Regions from separate parts of the Homo sapiens genome. Here all the other regions are linked to region 1. The links are contacts of gene promoters, found by promoter capture Hi-C in blood cells and fetal thymus (Javierre and others, 2016). All regions are on one chromosome and are shown on one strand. Each heading gives the region's core, a stretch centred on a gene start or on the middle of the fragment in contact. The rest is flanking DNA. Distances are from core to core; before and after follow the strand shown. Region 1 holds the start of KRT72 (keratin 72). Region 2 has its middle 25 kb from the start of EIF4B. Region 3 has its middle 12 kb from the start of KRT18. Region 4 has its middle 7.2 kb from the start of MIR9898. Region 5 has its middle 16 kb from the start of KRT78.

What was found. Contacts are between HindIII fragments. The CHiCAGO score rates a contact against its expected background, and 5 or more counts as called.
Region 2: a fragment that was not itself captured here is called in contact with the fragment with the promoter of KRT72 in region 1 in 1 of 17 cell types (naive CD4 T cells); the score reaches 5.0 in naive CD4 T cells.
Region 3: a contact is called between a fragment that was not itself captured here and the fragment with the promoter of KRT72 in region 1, in 1 of 17 cell types (M2 macrophages). The highest score is 6.0, in M2 macrophages.
Region 4: a fragment that was not itself captured here is called in contact with the fragment with the promoter of KRT72 in region 1 in 7 of 17 cell types (M2 macrophages, M1 macrophages, total CD4 T cells and 4 more); the score reaches 7.4 in M2 macrophages.
Region 5: a contact is called between a fragment that was not itself captured here and the fragment with the promoter of KRT72 in region 1, in 13 of 17 cell types (naive CD4 T cells, erythroblasts, total CD8 T cells and 10 more). The highest score is 15.6, in naive CD4 T cells.

What each region holds. Positions count from the first base shown.
Region 1 is chr12:52,599,964-52,602,852 of GRCh38, forward strand. It overlaps KRT72 (keratin 72), which reads right to left and starts at 1,500. Exons shown (of 9, transcript NM_080747.3): 1 at 1,064-1,500. The coding sequence starts at 1,489. The HindIII fragment of the contact is 8,078 bases long and covers 1-2,889 here.
Region 2 is chr12:52,980,385-52,983,273 of GRCh38, forward strand. No RefSeq gene overlaps it. Among named protein-coding and RNA genes, the nearest start is that of EIF4B, 25 kb to the right of the region's middle. The HindIII fragment of the contact is 1,123 bases long and covers 849-1,971 here.
Region 3 is chr12:52,959,789-52,962,677 of GRCh38, forward strand. No RefSeq gene overlaps it. Among named protein-coding and RNA genes, the nearest start is that of KRT18, 12 kb to the left of the region's middle. The HindIII fragment of the contact is 7,526 bases long and covers 1-2,889 here.
Region 4 is chr12:52,890,326-52,893,214 of GRCh38, forward strand. No RefSeq gene overlaps it. Among named protein-coding and RNA genes, the nearest start is that of MIR9898, 7.2 kb to the right of the region's middle. The HindIII fragment of the contact is 2,470 bases long and covers 204-2,673 here.
Region 5 is chr12:52,863,580-52,866,468 of GRCh38, forward strand. No RefSeq gene overlaps it. Among named protein-coding and RNA genes, the nearest start is that of KRT78, 16 kb to the left of the region's middle. The HindIII fragment of the contact is 5,339 bases long and covers 1-2,889 here.

The DNA.
Region 1 (2,889 bases), core at 250-2,749:
TATTGTTATCAGGCTGTCCCCTTATCACTCACCGTCTAGACCTTCCATCCAGGTGGAGACAAGAGAAGTCCATTCCCTGTCTCCTCTCCACTCACTGGGGTCATTGCCTCAGAAGCTCCAGAGACAACTTCCCTATTACCCCAATTTCTGGATGCCCCACCCTCAGCACACACCTGTAACTTTACATGCACTCTTTCCAAGTGCCTCCTCAGCCTCACCCTTCAGTTTTCTGGCCCTTTTCTCTCACCTCCTCTATCATCTTCCTGGCTACACACTTACCCCACTCCTCAAGCACCAAGCACCATGTCCTGCAACGTCTCTTGGCCTCTGTTCCTAATGCCCTGCCCTGAATGTGGGTCCCATCTCCTCTTCTGATATTGGGAGCTCTCAAAGTGCCCATTCCTTGGACATCCTGACCCCTCCCTTCTCACAGTCTTGTCTCATGCAAGAAAGAAATGAAGGTCCTTGATACGTTTTGGCTGTGTCCCCACCCAAATCTCAACTTGAATTAAGTCTCCCAGAATTCCCACGTGTTGTGGGAGGGACCCAGGGGGGAGGTAAATGAATCATAGGGGCCGGTCTTTCTCCTGCTATTCTCCTAATAGTGAATAAGTATCACGAGATCTGATGCGTTTATCAGGGGTTTCCGTTTTTGCTTCTGCCTCATTTTTCTCTGGCCGCCGCCATATAAGACGTGACTTTGGCCTCCCGTTATGATTCTGAGACCTCCCCAGCCATGGAGAACTGTAAGTCCAATGAAACCTCTTTTTTTTTTTCCCAGTCTCGGGTATGTCTTTATCAGCAGCATGAAAATGGGCTAATACATCCTGTTTATTGGAAGTATGTGCCAGGCACTGTTCTGAGCACTTCGTAAACATCCCAATTAAGCCTCATCGCAACCCACTGGAGTAAGACCCATTATTGTGCCCATTTTACAAATGGAAAAGGGAGGCTCGGAGAGGTTATGACCCGCCCACGCTCCCACACAGCTCGCCAGTGGCAGAGCCAGCACCACTGTGCACATGCGCCCAACGCAGGGACAGGCCAATGCCCGAGGACTCACCTTGTCGATGAAGGAGGCGAACTTGTTGTTTAGCGCCTTGATCTGCTCCCGCTCCTGGGCGCGCACCCTCTGGATCTCGGGGTCCATCTCCACGTTGAGCGGGGCCAGGAGGCTCTTGTTGACGGTGACCTGAGGGATGCCCCCGGGTGGGCACACGGAGGGACACTTGGGCCCCAGCCCGGCGCTGCCGAAGGCGGTGCCCACGAAGCCGCCCAGGCGGCCGCCGCCCCGCCGTGCAGCAGCGCTGAGCGCCAGGCTTCGGCTGCCCCCAAGGCAGGAGAGGCTCTTGCTGCCAAAGGAGGCCGAGCCCTTGACCCGGGCCCGGAATGAGGCGGAGCTGCTGCCGATCCCGCCAGAGAGGACCGCGGAGCAACCGCTGAAGCCCAGGCGCTCCCCGCGGGGGAAATGGGTCAGTTGGCGGCTCATGGCTCGCAAGTACCGGTGCTGGCCGCGCGGGAGGCAGAAGGGGCGCAAACAGCCGCTGCGTTCTCGGCCCAGCTCGCCCCTTAAATAGCCTGGCTGGCTGGAGTCAGCCTAATTTGTATGTCGACAACACCTTTTAGATCCCTTGAGGCCTCTTGGGTTCTTCATGTAGGAAATTACCATGCACTCACCGAGATTTTTGTCTGTTCCACCGTGAACTCCCCATGAATCCCTGTAAAGTGACCCAGAACCCAGCATTTACTTGGCTCACCTCCTGCATTATCATGGCTTAGCGACCTTATCTCCACCTGCTGGCCTCCAATTACTGGGGTTATCACTCCCAAGATCACCCCTGGAAACTTCCAGTGGGGCTGACCCTCTGGGTGTGTGTCTGGGGAGACGGAGGTGTGTGAAGCAGAAGTCCAGGCTGCTTCTGCTTCAGAAGGCCATGAATAGAGTCAAGACTATCGCAGAAAATCATCCTTAGCCTGTCCTCCTCCTGCCTCCCAGGCTTCTGGATGAGGACAGCTCTGTCCCTTGTGCAAGAAGGAAGTTCAGAAGGAGGAGATTTTGGCCCCGTCTGCAGAGACCTCTCAGTCTGTTGGAGAAGGCAGGACACAGAGACCTCTGGTCACAAGTGTTGAGGGTTGACTTTGGACCAGAGCGAAAAGATTTCTCCACTAAGCATTTCTGGACTAAGAATGGGGACCATGCTATCTGGGAGGGAGGGAAGAAGGCCTGGGGAGGTGGTACAGGAAGACTCAGGCATGGTTTAGCAGATGGTGTTTCCTAAGGCTTTCGGTTGTTTTCATTTTTGTTTTCTTTTAATAGCAGAAGAGGCTTATTTATCCCATCCAGCAAACCTCTGCTCAGGTCATTTGCCACCCAGTCATTTCTGATTCAGCATCAAAATGTGATCAGTTATTAGGAAGAGGTCAAGACTCTTCAGATCTAAAACCAAGAACTAGATTCTAGAACTTCATTCCCTTTAAGCTACAGAGGCTCCTTCTTCCACCTAACCCGATTTCCTTTTCTCAAACTTAAGCTGCCTTCAAGTCTCCTCCTCTCTTAGCAACAGCTCTCCTGTTCCTCTGGCATGCAGGTGGGATTATTTCATTGCTCTTATTTCTTAAGCTGCCAGAGTCCTGGGTGTGTGTTCCATTTCCTCTATCAGATTGACAGGGCCCCCTGGATTCACCCTTCCCTCCTCTGCTCCCCCAGTGCTCAGCCCAGGCCTTGGCCAAAGGGACATTTAGGATGATTGTGAAACAGCAGAGTGCTTAGGGCAAGGCTTGTTACTGCACCTTCAGTGATACCCTGAAGGCTGGGTTCCCCTTGGGGACCTCATGGGTTGGTTAAATGGTACCTGGGGGTAATTGGCTGACATAGCCTCCACTGGGCCA
Region 2 (2,889 bases), core at 160-2,659, 380 kb after region 1:
AGCTTGATGAGTATGGGGAAGGTATGGGAACAGAGGAAGGGAGGAAAAGCCATGGCGACAGGGTGACACTTATAGCAACAAGTTGTATGGTGAGGGGGGCAGGTTAAGGGATGAGGCTGCAGAGCTCCCTTGAACTATCCCTTTAAGCATTTTGTAATGACTCCTATCCCTTTAAGCATTTCATAGCAAGATCTGCACCTGTTTGAGTTATTCTGTTTTATTTCTGGCACTGCATCAATATAGCCATTTGTTTTATTAAATGACTCTGATGGCATTTTTTTTTTTTTTGAGATGGAGTCTCGATCTGTCACCCAAGCTGGAGTGCAATGGCATGATCTCAGCTCACCGCAACCTCCACCTCCTGGATTGAAGCTATTCTCCTGCCTCAGCCTCCCGAGGTACGCACCACCATGCCCGACTAATTTCTTGTATTTTTAGTAGAGGCAGGCTTTCACCAAGTTGGCCAGGCTGGTCTTGAACTCTTGACCTCAAGCCTCGGCCTCCCAAAGTGCTGAGATTACACATGTGAGCCACCACGTCCGGCACTGATGGCCTTTTTGACTTGGTGACTCCAGCTGTCCCTGAGAAAAGCAGTCTTGCCTCCCTCTGCCCCCTGGTGGCCTTCTAGGTGCAGAGACCATTGTTCCAGTCATCCTGGCTACTAGAATGGCTTTGATTTTCTGGCTTATAGCACCACCATTTGGCCAAATTTGCTAATAGGCGGCTGCTCCATCCACATTGACTTCCAATTTCTTTTCAACCTTCTCATTGGCAGAGTTCATGGAATCAGAGCCTCTTGGAGCTTAAACAACGTCAGTGGACGTAAGAGCTCTCCAGAGCCTCAAGCAAGCTTGCAGTTCATTCTGGAGGGCCATGCTAGCGGCACAGACAGAATGGCAGTGATCATGGTGCAGGAGTCGAGGAACTGGCCCTGTGAATGTCAGGCATGTGTCCCCCTGGGTTTCCTGGTCCTTCCCTATTTGCCCTTGCCCTGACACACCTCTCATCCTCCTTCATGCTGCCTCCTGCACAATGCTTCTCCAGATTGGCTCAGTCCTATTTACACAGTCTTTGATCTGGTGTTTATGTCTTTTTTTTTTTTTTTTGAGACTGGTCTCAAACTCCTGACCTTGTGATCCACCCGCCTCAGCCTCCCAAAGTGCTGGGATTACAGGTGTGGGCCACTATGCCCGACCTATGTCTTTATTTTTTTTTTTATTTTTTTTTTTGAGACGGAATCTTGCTCTGTAGCCCAGGTTGGAGTGCAGTGGCACGATCTCGGCCCACTGCAAGCTCTGCCTTCCAGGTTCACGCCATTCTCCTGCCTCAGCCTCCCGAGTAGCTGGGACTACAGGCACCCGCCACCACGCCCAGCTAATTTTTTGTATTTTTAGACAGAGATAGGGTTTCACCGTGTTAGCCAGGATGGTCTCAATCTCCTGACCTCGTGATCCGCCCGCCTCGGCCTCCCAAAGTGCTGGGATTACAGGTGTGAGCCCCTGCACCCCCGCCCGACCTATGTCTTTATAATAATACCTAATATTTATATAATGCTTTGCAGTTTATGAACTATTTTATTTTATTTTTTATTTTTATTTTTTTGAGACAGAGTCCCACTCTGTCACCCAGGCTGGAGTGCAGTGGCATGATCTTGGTTCACTGCAACCTCTGCCTCCAGGTTTCAAGTGATTCTCCTGCCTCAGCCTCCTGAGTAGCTGGGACCACAGGCACGTGCCACCACGCCCGGCTAATTTTTTGTATTTTTAGTACAGACAGGGTTTCACCATGTTAGCCAGGATGGTCTTGATCTCCTGACCTCGTGATCCACCTGCCTCAGCCTCCCAAAGTGCTGGGATTACAGGCGTGAGCCACCAGGCCCAGCCTATGAACTCTTTTATACAGAACTACCACTCTTCAAGTGCTTACTGTGTGGCAGGTACTGTGCTAAGGATTTGAAATAAATGATCCCTAAGCTTTCCAAGATAGGTAAGTATAAGTGGTCCCATGTTATGAAAAAGGAAACTGCCAGGCGTGGTGGCTCACGCCTGTAATCCCAGCACTTTGGGAGGCTGAGGAGGGCGGATAACCTGAGGTCAGGAATTGGAGACCAGCCTGGCCAACATGGCGAAACCCTATCTCTACTAAAAAAATACAAAAATTAGCCAGGCGTGGTGGCAGGTGCCTGTAATCCCAGCTTCTCAGGAGGTTGAGGCAGGAGAATTGCTTGAACCCGGGAGGTAGAGATTGCAGTGAGCCCAGATTGCACCATTGCACTCCAGCCTGGGTGATAGAGTGAGACTCCATCTCAAGGAAAAAAAAAAAAGAGAGGCTGGGTACAGTGGCTCAGGCCTGTAATCCCAGTACTTTGGGAGGCCAAGGTGGGCGGATCACAAAGTCAGGAGTTCGAGACCAGCCTGGCCAACACAGTGAAACCCCATCTCTACTAAAAATACAAAAATTTGCCAGGCATAGTGGCGCACGCCTATAGTCCCAGCTACTCAGGAGACGAGGCAGGAGAATCGCTTGAACCCAGGAGGCGGAGGTTGCAGTGAGTTGAGATCGCACCACTGCACTCCGGCCTGGGCAACAGAGTGAGACTCTGTCTCAAAAAAAAGAAAAAGGGAACTAGGGTTTCGGACAAGACCAAATGACATAGTAGAAAAAGCTTTGAAGTCAGACCAGATCCAAGTTTGAATTATTTATTTGTTGTTGAGTATCACAAACTGTCAGTTCACTCCCTGGATAAAAATTGCATGTGAACACCTCTAGCCAGGGCATGCACTCCTCAATCTTCCATAGTCTGCACCACTCCCAGTGACCTACACCACTTCGCACACTTGCCTATCTGAACCCTGACAGTATTTGAATTTGAGACCCTTAAAAATATTA
Region 3 (2,889 bases), core at 174-2,673, 360 kb after region 1:
TGGAACTGGTTTCCTTGACTTTTCCAGCTTCTAGAGGTCACCTGCATTCCTTGACTTGGTCCCATCTGCCATCTTTAAAGCCAGCATCTTCAAATCTCTCCCCACTTCCCTCTCTCCTGACTTCTGCTTCCATTATCCTCACATCTCCTTTCTCTGACCCTTCTGCCTCCTTCTTATAAGGATCCTTTGATGACATTAGATTTACCCAGACAATGAGCATAATCTCCCCAACTTAAGATCTTTGATTTACATGGCAAGGTCCCTGTTGCTGTGTAAGGAAACTCACAGGCAAAGAGGGGCGGTTAGGATATGGACATCTTGGGATGGGAGGGGACCATTATTCAGCCTACCATAGGAAGGGGGCAGCAGATTGCAGGATTTTTTGTTTTTGTTTTTCTTTTGAGATGGAGTTTCATTCTTGTTGCCCAGGCTGGAGTGCGATGGCTCAATCTCAGCTCACTGCAACCTCCGCCTCCCGGGTTCAAGAGATTCTCATGTCTCAGCCTCCCGAGTAGCTGGGATTACAGGCATGCGCCACCATGCCAGGCTAATTTTGTATTTTTAGTAGAGATGGGGGTTTCTCCATGTTGATCAGGCTGGTGTCAAAATCCCAACCTCAGGTGATCCACCTGCCTCAGCCTCCCAAAGTGCTGGGATTATAGGCGTGAGCCACCACGCCTGGCCAGCAGATTGCAGTTTTAAGTAGGGCAGCCTGGGCAGGAAGTGACATTGGGCCAAGACTGAAGGAGATGAGGGACCTAGCCTGGCATATCTTGGGGATCAGCAGCGAGGATGGGTCCTGGGTGTATGAGCAGCATCTCTCAGCCCCCGACCTGCACATTCAGGTTTGCCCTTGTATGTACCCTTAGGTCTCCTTGGGGCCCACAGGGCATTGGGAAAGGGTCGACTGCCAACGTACCTTGCCCCAAAGCTCCTCCTCATCCCCCCTGCACCCTGCCACTGAAGGCCCTCACAGGCCACCAGTCTAAGTCCAGCAGCCTCCCCTCTCTCCTCATCTTTTTCAGCCTCTGCAGCACTTGACCCTGATGTCCTTCTGCTCTTGACCTGCACACCACTGCGCTCCGCAGTCCTCTCACCTCTGCCTGCTGCACTTCATCCATCTGCCCTTTAAACACAGGCCTTGCAGGCTGTCCTCAGCTTTTTCTCTTCTTGGGCCTTTTTTTTTTTTTTTTGGAGATGGAGTCTAACTCTGTCGCCCAGGCTGGAGTGCAGTGGCACAATCTTGGCTCACTGCAACCTCCACCTTTGGGGTTCAAGCGATTCTTCTACCTCAGCCTCCCAAGCAGCTGGCATTACAGGTACCCACCACCAGGCAGCTAATTTTCTGTATTTTTAGTAGAGATGGGGATTCACCATGTTGGCCAGGCTGGTCTTGGACTCTTGACCTCAAGTGATCCACCCACCTCAGCCTCCCAAAGTGCTGGGACTACAAGTGTGAGCCACCGTGCCTGGCCATGGACAATCTTATTTTTATTCCCTGACTCTGTTGCTACCTCTGAGCTGGTATCTCAATATTTACCTCCAGCCCTAGCCTCTCTTGAGCTTCAGAACCGTGCTATATTTTCCAACTGCCTTTGTTTCATTTCATCATGTGGCATACTTAGCTATTTATGTCATCTTCCCCATGAGACTGGAAATGCCTTGAAGACAGGTACCCTATTTTTTTGTTTCTTTGGTTTGTGTTATTGTTTTTTGTTTGTTTGTTTTGTTTTGTTTTGAGACAGTTTCACTCTTGTTGCCAAGGCTGGAGTGCAATGGCGTGATCTCAGCTCACTGCAACCTCCACCTGCTGGGTTCAAGTGATTCCCCTGCCTCAGCCTCCCAAGTAGCTGGGACTACAGGCATGCGCCACCACACCCAACCATTTTTGTATGTTTAGTAGAGATGGGGGGTTCACCATGTTGGCCAGGCTGGTCTCAAACTACTGACCTCAGGTGATCTGCCCACCTCAGCCTCTGAAAGTCCTGGGATTCCAGGCGTGAGCCACCGCACCCAGCCTACCCTGTTTTCTTCATCCTGGTGTCATCCTGGATTGGTCATATAACAATGGCAATTACCATAATAACCAGTATTTGGTTTTTTTTGGGGGGGACAGAGTTTCACTCTTGTCACCCAGGCTAGAGTGCAATGGCACGAACTCAGCTCACTGCAACCTCTGCCTCCCAGGTTCAAGTGATTCTCCTGCTTCAGCCTCCCAAGTAGCTGGGATTACAGGCGTGCACCACCATGCCTGGCTAATTTTTGTATTTTTAGTAGAGATGGGGTTTCACCATGTTGGCCAAGCTAGTCTCAAACTCCTGACCTCAGGTGATCCACCCACCTTGGCCTCCCAAAGTGCTGGGATTACAGGCATGAGCCACCGCGCCTGGCCAGTAACCAGTATTTACTGAGCACTTTCTATGTGTCAGGCACTGTGCTAAGCACATTACATATATTAATTCACTTAATCCTAACAACAACCCTATGAGACGGATAGTATTACAATCCTCATTTTACAGGTGAAGAAACTGAGGCTCAGAAAGGTAAACTACCTTCCTTAAGGTCTCACAGCTAAATAAATGGCAAAGCCAGAATTCAAACCCAGGCAGTCTGGCTGCAAAATCCAAAGGCAGTAGTTGGAATGGATTGGCATTCAGCTCCATTCCAAATTGGTACCTTTCTGCTTCAGAAACCAAAGAGCTAAAAAGTGCATTTCCCAGATGTCCTTGCAGCTAGGAAGTGAATTATGTCGCACTAATTAGATGCAGATGAATACGATTCGGAAAGTGGAAGTGAGGTGAAGACCCTCCTCTGCTGCTTTGATTGTTCCTGCTAGCACGTCTGGTCATGAGGCTGTGGGATTTTTCTGGAGCAGTGTCCAGTGTCCAG
Region 4 (2,889 bases), core at 189-2,688, 290 kb after region 1:
ATATTAATAAAATACCTCTGCAGATGAATGAGTGACTGTAATTTACAAGGAGAAAATACAGGGTGCCTTGGGAACTTATCATAGAAACACGCCACTCAGTTTGTGGTGTCTAGAAGACTTTCTTGTCTTGTGGTGTCATAAAACTTTTTGTCTTGTCTTGTGGTGTCAGAAGACTTTCTTGGGGAAGCTGCGTTTGAGCGGAAAGCTTGGGAGTGACTAGGAAAGGCAGGGTGTTCCAAGCAGGGGGCCAGCCATGCAATGCCCTGAGCAGAAGCAAATTCCATGTAGGCTATGCCCTGAAAAGCCTGCACCACTGCATCAGAGAGCAAGGGACAGAGTGGCCAGGATGAGGCCTCAGAGGAGGAAGAGTAGGCACAGCCTGTGGGCCAAGTCAAGATTTAGGGCTTTATTCTGGGTGTCAAAAGTAAAGGGTTTTCCCATCATTCTGAGCAAACTATTGCAAGGGCAGAAAACCAAACACCGCATGTTCTCACTCATAGGTGGGAATTGAACAATGAGAACACTTAGACACAGGGTGGGGAACATCACACACCAGGGCCTGTCGTGGGGTGGGGGTAGAGGGGAGGGATAGCATTAGGAGATATACCTAATGTAAATGAAGAGTTAACGAGTTAACGGGTGCAGCACACCAACATGGCACATGTATACATATGTAACAAACCTGCATGTTGTGCACATGTACCCTAGAACTTAAAGTATAATAAAAAATAAAGAAAGAAAAGAAAAAAATAAAATAAAAATAAAGGGTTTTCCATATAAGGAAGTAACTGAATCTGATTCATATTTTTGAGAATGCACTCTGATTTTGGGGGCAGTGAACTATTCTGTATGGTACTGTAATGGTGGCTACATGGCCCCCACAGAATGTCCACACTAAGAGTTAACTCTAATGTGAACTATGGACTGTGGGTAATAATGATGTGTCAATGTAGGTTCATCAATCGTAACAAATGTATCCCTCTGAGGTGGGATGTTGATGATGTTGTAACAAATGTAGCCCTCTGGTGTGGGATGCAGGTGTAGGGGCAGAATGTGTATGAGAACCCTCTACCTCCTGCTCGATTTTGCTATGAACCTAAAATTGCTCTTTTTTTCTTTTTTTTTTTTTTTTTTTTTTTTGAGACGGAGTCTTTCTCTGTCGCCCAGGCTGGAGTGCAGTGGCATGATCTCAGTTCACTGCAAGCTCTGCCTCCTGGGTTCACACCATTCTCCTGCCTCAGCCTCTCGAGTAGCTGGGACTACAGGCGCCTGCCACCACACCCAGATAATTTTTTTGTATTTTTTAGTAGAGACGGGGTTTCACCATGTTAGCCAGGATGGTCTCGATCTCCTGACCTCGTGATCCACCCGCCTCAGCCTCCCAAAGTGCTGGGATTACAGGCATGAGCCACAGCGCCTAGCTAAAACTGTTCTTAAAAAATAAGTCTACTAAAAAAAAGTGCACTCTGGCAAGGGGCCCAAGTGAACCTTCTGTGATATAGGAAATGTTCTACATTACAGGTGTGAACATAAGTTAAAACTCATCAGGCGCCGGGCACGGTGGCTCACGCCTGTAATCCCAGCACTTTGGGAGGCTGAGGCGGGTGGATCACCTGAGGTCGGGAGTTGCCTGACCAACACGGAGAAACCCCGTCTCTACTAAAAATACAAAATTAGCCCGGCGTGGTGGCGCATGCCTGTAGTCCCAGCTACTCAGGAGGCTGAGGCGGGAGAATCGCTTGAACCTGGGCAGCGGAGGTTGCAGTGAGCCGAGATCGTGCCATTGCACTTCAGCCTGGGCAACAAGAGTGAAACTCCATCTCAAAAAAAATAAATAAAAATAAAAATAAAAAAACTCATCAGGTTGTACATTCCCCATTAAAGCACATTTTGCATTTTATTGTATGTACAATATGCCTCAGCAAGGAGGAAACAAAGGGACTTGTGATTGGCCAAGGCTGGCCCATTGTGAACCCTGTGTGCCTGGACAGAGGTCCTGTGATCTTAGGAGGAACAGTTCCTGAAAAGAAGTGGGGCGTGGCAGGAGTGGAGGTGGGGGAGCTTTGCATTACTAGAAGAAGGGGGAAGGGGTCCTGGCTAGACAAAGCAACTATGCCCACCACAATGTGTAAAAGGGCAGCGCGGAGAGTGAACTAGGGGGCCACCCACCATGCTGGTATCCTTCCCTGCCTTCCTTTCCTTGCAGTGGTGCTTCCTCTTCCTTTCCCAACAGGTAGAATCTATGATATATAATTACGTAGGGACATGCATGCACACATTTCTATCTATCCTTCATGAAGGGTATGTACTGTCCGCATTGTCACATGCCTTGCTTTAACATTCACTCCTCCATTCCCACCACCTTACACTCCAGTCAGCCTGGCCCTCGGTCCTTAGCCCACCTTCAGATCCCCCTACTACAGGGGAGCTCCTAGACCACCTTAGCCCAGATCAGCGGGCAGGCAGAGCAAAACCTTGGAATTAAAATATCTTCAGAAGAGTCCACAAATGCTTGGAAGACTCATCATTTTAATCCTGGGTGGTTGGGTCGGGAAAGGCAGGGTGGAGGGAAGTGGGGGATAATGGCTGGCTCATCTGGAATAGTCAAACAGGAACCTTCTTCTACACATGTAAATTTTCTAAAAAACTAAAATTCAGTCCCATAGGAAATCAAGCTTTAAAAACAAAAAGTCTACTAAAATTTAAATGTGCACACATTTTGCTTCAGCAATTCCACTTGTAGGAATTATTAAGATATCCTCACCATTGTCATAGCAAATACCAATAGAGGACTGGTTAAGTAAATTGTGGCACATCCCAAAGTGGAATATTATGCAGCTGTGAAAAAGAGTGGAGAAGCAACTTGTATACTGATATGGAAGGAACAGG
Region 5 (2,889 bases), core at 166-2,665, 260 kb after region 1:
ATGGTGGCACACACCTATAGTCCCAGTTACTTGGAAGACTGAGGTGGGAGGATCACTTGAGCCCGGGAGGTTAAGGCTGCATTGAGCTATGATTGCACCAATGCACTCCAGCCTGGACAGCAGAGTGAGACCCTGCCTCTAAAAAAAACATAAATAAGTAGAAGGGCCGGGCGCAGTGGCTCACGCCTGTAATCCCAGCACTTTGGGAGGCCGAGGTGGGCGGATCACGAGGTCAGGAGTCGAGACCATCCTGGCTAGCACAGTGAAACCCCGTCTCTACTAAAAATGCAGAAAATTAGCCAGATATGGTGGCACATGCCTGTAGTCCCAGCTACTCAGGAGGCTGAGGCAAGAGAATCGCTTGAACCCAGGAGGCAGAAGTTGCAGTGAGCCGAGATCACGCCATTGCACTCCGGCCTGGGCAACAGAGCGAGACTCCATCTCAAAAAAAAAAAAAAAAGTAGAAGGAATACATTCTAAGATAATGATAAAAAGTAGAGTAAATATACAAGCCAGTAACATAGTCCTTTACTACCATGATCAAGTAATAATATGTACTGTATGTAATTTCATGTGCTATATATTGATACAATTGGCAGCACAGTAGGTTTTTTACACCAGCATCTTCACAAACACGTGAGTAATGCCTTTTGATACATTATGATGGCTACGATGTCAATAGGCAAGAGGAATTTTTCAGTTCCATTATAATGTATGGAACCATTGTCATATATGCACCATACATACAACAGAGACCTTGTTATGCAATGTGTGACCATACTCATGTGTCTCATATAGCAGTATATTCTACTGCAATAGATGCATCATCTATTCATATTAATACGTATTTCCAGGCCCAGTGTGGTGGCTCACTCCTGTAATCCCAGCACTTTGGGAGGCCGAGGCAGGTGGATCACTTGAGGTCAGGAGTTCGAGGCCAGCCTGGCCAACATGGTGAAACCCTGTCTCTACTAAAAATACAAAAATTAGCCAGACATGGTGACGGGTGCCTATAATCTCAGCTACTGGGGAAGCTGAAGCAGGAGAATCATTTGAACCAGGGAGGCAGAGGTTGCAGTGAGCTGAGATCATGCCATTGCACTCCAGCCTGGGTGACAGAGTGAGTCTCCATCTCAAAAAAAAAAAAAAAAAAAGCCAGGCACAGTGGCTCACACCTGTAATCCCAACACTTTAGGAGGCTGGGATAGGTGGATCACAATACGAGGTCAGGAGTTCGAGACCAGCCTGACCAACATGGTGAAACCCTACTAAAATATAAAAATATAGTTTTTATATCTACTAAAAATATAAAATTAGCCAGTCATGGTGGCGCACGCCTGTAATCCCAGCTACTCAGGAGGCTGAGGCAGGAGAATTGCTTGAATCCAGGAGGCAGAGGTTGCGGTAAGCCAAGATTGTGCCACTGCATTCCAGCCTGGGCAACAGAGTGAGACTCTGTCTCAAAAAAAAAAAAAAAAAAAAAAAAAAAAAAAAAAAAAATATATATATATATATATATATATATATATTTCCCATAAGTGGGATCATATTACACATATGAATTTAAGCAGGCTTTCCCCCCATATCTGTCAATAAACACATCCTTAGATTACTGTGAAAGGCTCAGAATATTCTCTTGCAAGATTCTCAGGGGTTTTCACAAGTCCACTGCCTGATATCTTCCCCAGAGGAGATCTGAGCCTTGGTCTAGAAACCTCATCTGATCACAGACACACACACGCACAGGCACACGATCACGCATACACACACTGGAGTCCATAGGAGCCAGAGATGGTGGTTCACCAGGCAGCCCAGTTTAATCCAGTCCTGCTCTCAGACACCTGTCCAGGATTTTCCAGGGCCCAGACCCATTCCCGGTATTTCCTTGCAAGCAGGAGCAGGAGCAGGAGCCAGTTTCTCCCACTCTTGACTCCCCCTGCAGGTGGCCAGGATTCTTGCAACCCAGATGCCTGGGAGCTGGGCTGGACGCCTGGAATGGAAGCAAGGGGCAGTTCATGATCTTCCTGGAAGCCTCTTCTGTGCCACCACCTCCCTGGTGCCTGATGTGGGGATAAGGCCAGAGGCCCCCAAATGGGGACTCAGAGCGCTGGTGATTCCCAGGCCTTTTTCTAGACCTTGAGAAGTCCAAGTAGGCCCTGGGCCAACCTGGGAAAATTCACAGTGCATAGACTCTCTCGGAAGCTCTCTTGGGATCCTGGAGACGCCTTGGGCAGAACACAAAATGAGGCTGAGGATCAGGGAGAGAGGGGCCCTAGGGGCTGATGGTCAAGATCAGATCAGGGGTCTGACACTATGGGTTCAGACACTGTCTTCACTACGGCCTAGCCATGCGGCCTCAAGCTAGCGACTTAACCTCTCTGTGCCTTCCTCCATTTTCCAGCTATCATAAGGGGATAATCGGCCAGGCATGGTGGCTCATGCCTGTAATCCCAGCACTTTGGGATGCTGAGGCGGGTGAATTACCTGAGGTCAGGAGTTCGAGACCAGCCTGGCCAACATGGCAAAACCCCATCTCTACTACAAATACAAAAATTAGCCAGGCGTGGTGGCAGGCACCTGTAACCCCAGCTATTCAGGAGACTGAGGCACAAGAATCACTTGAACCTGGGAGGCTCGGGTTGCAGTGAGCCAAGATCGCCCCACTGCACTCCAACCTGGGTGACAGAGCAAGACTCAGTCTAAAAGAAAAACAAAAAATCCGGGCGTGGTGGCTCATGCCTGTAATCCCAGCACTTTGGAAAGCTGAGGCGGGTGGATCACCTGAGGTCAGAAGTTCGAGACCAGCCTGACCAACATGGAGAAACCCCATCTCTACTAAAAATACAAAATTAGCCAGGCATGGTGGTACATGCCTGTAATCCCAGCTAC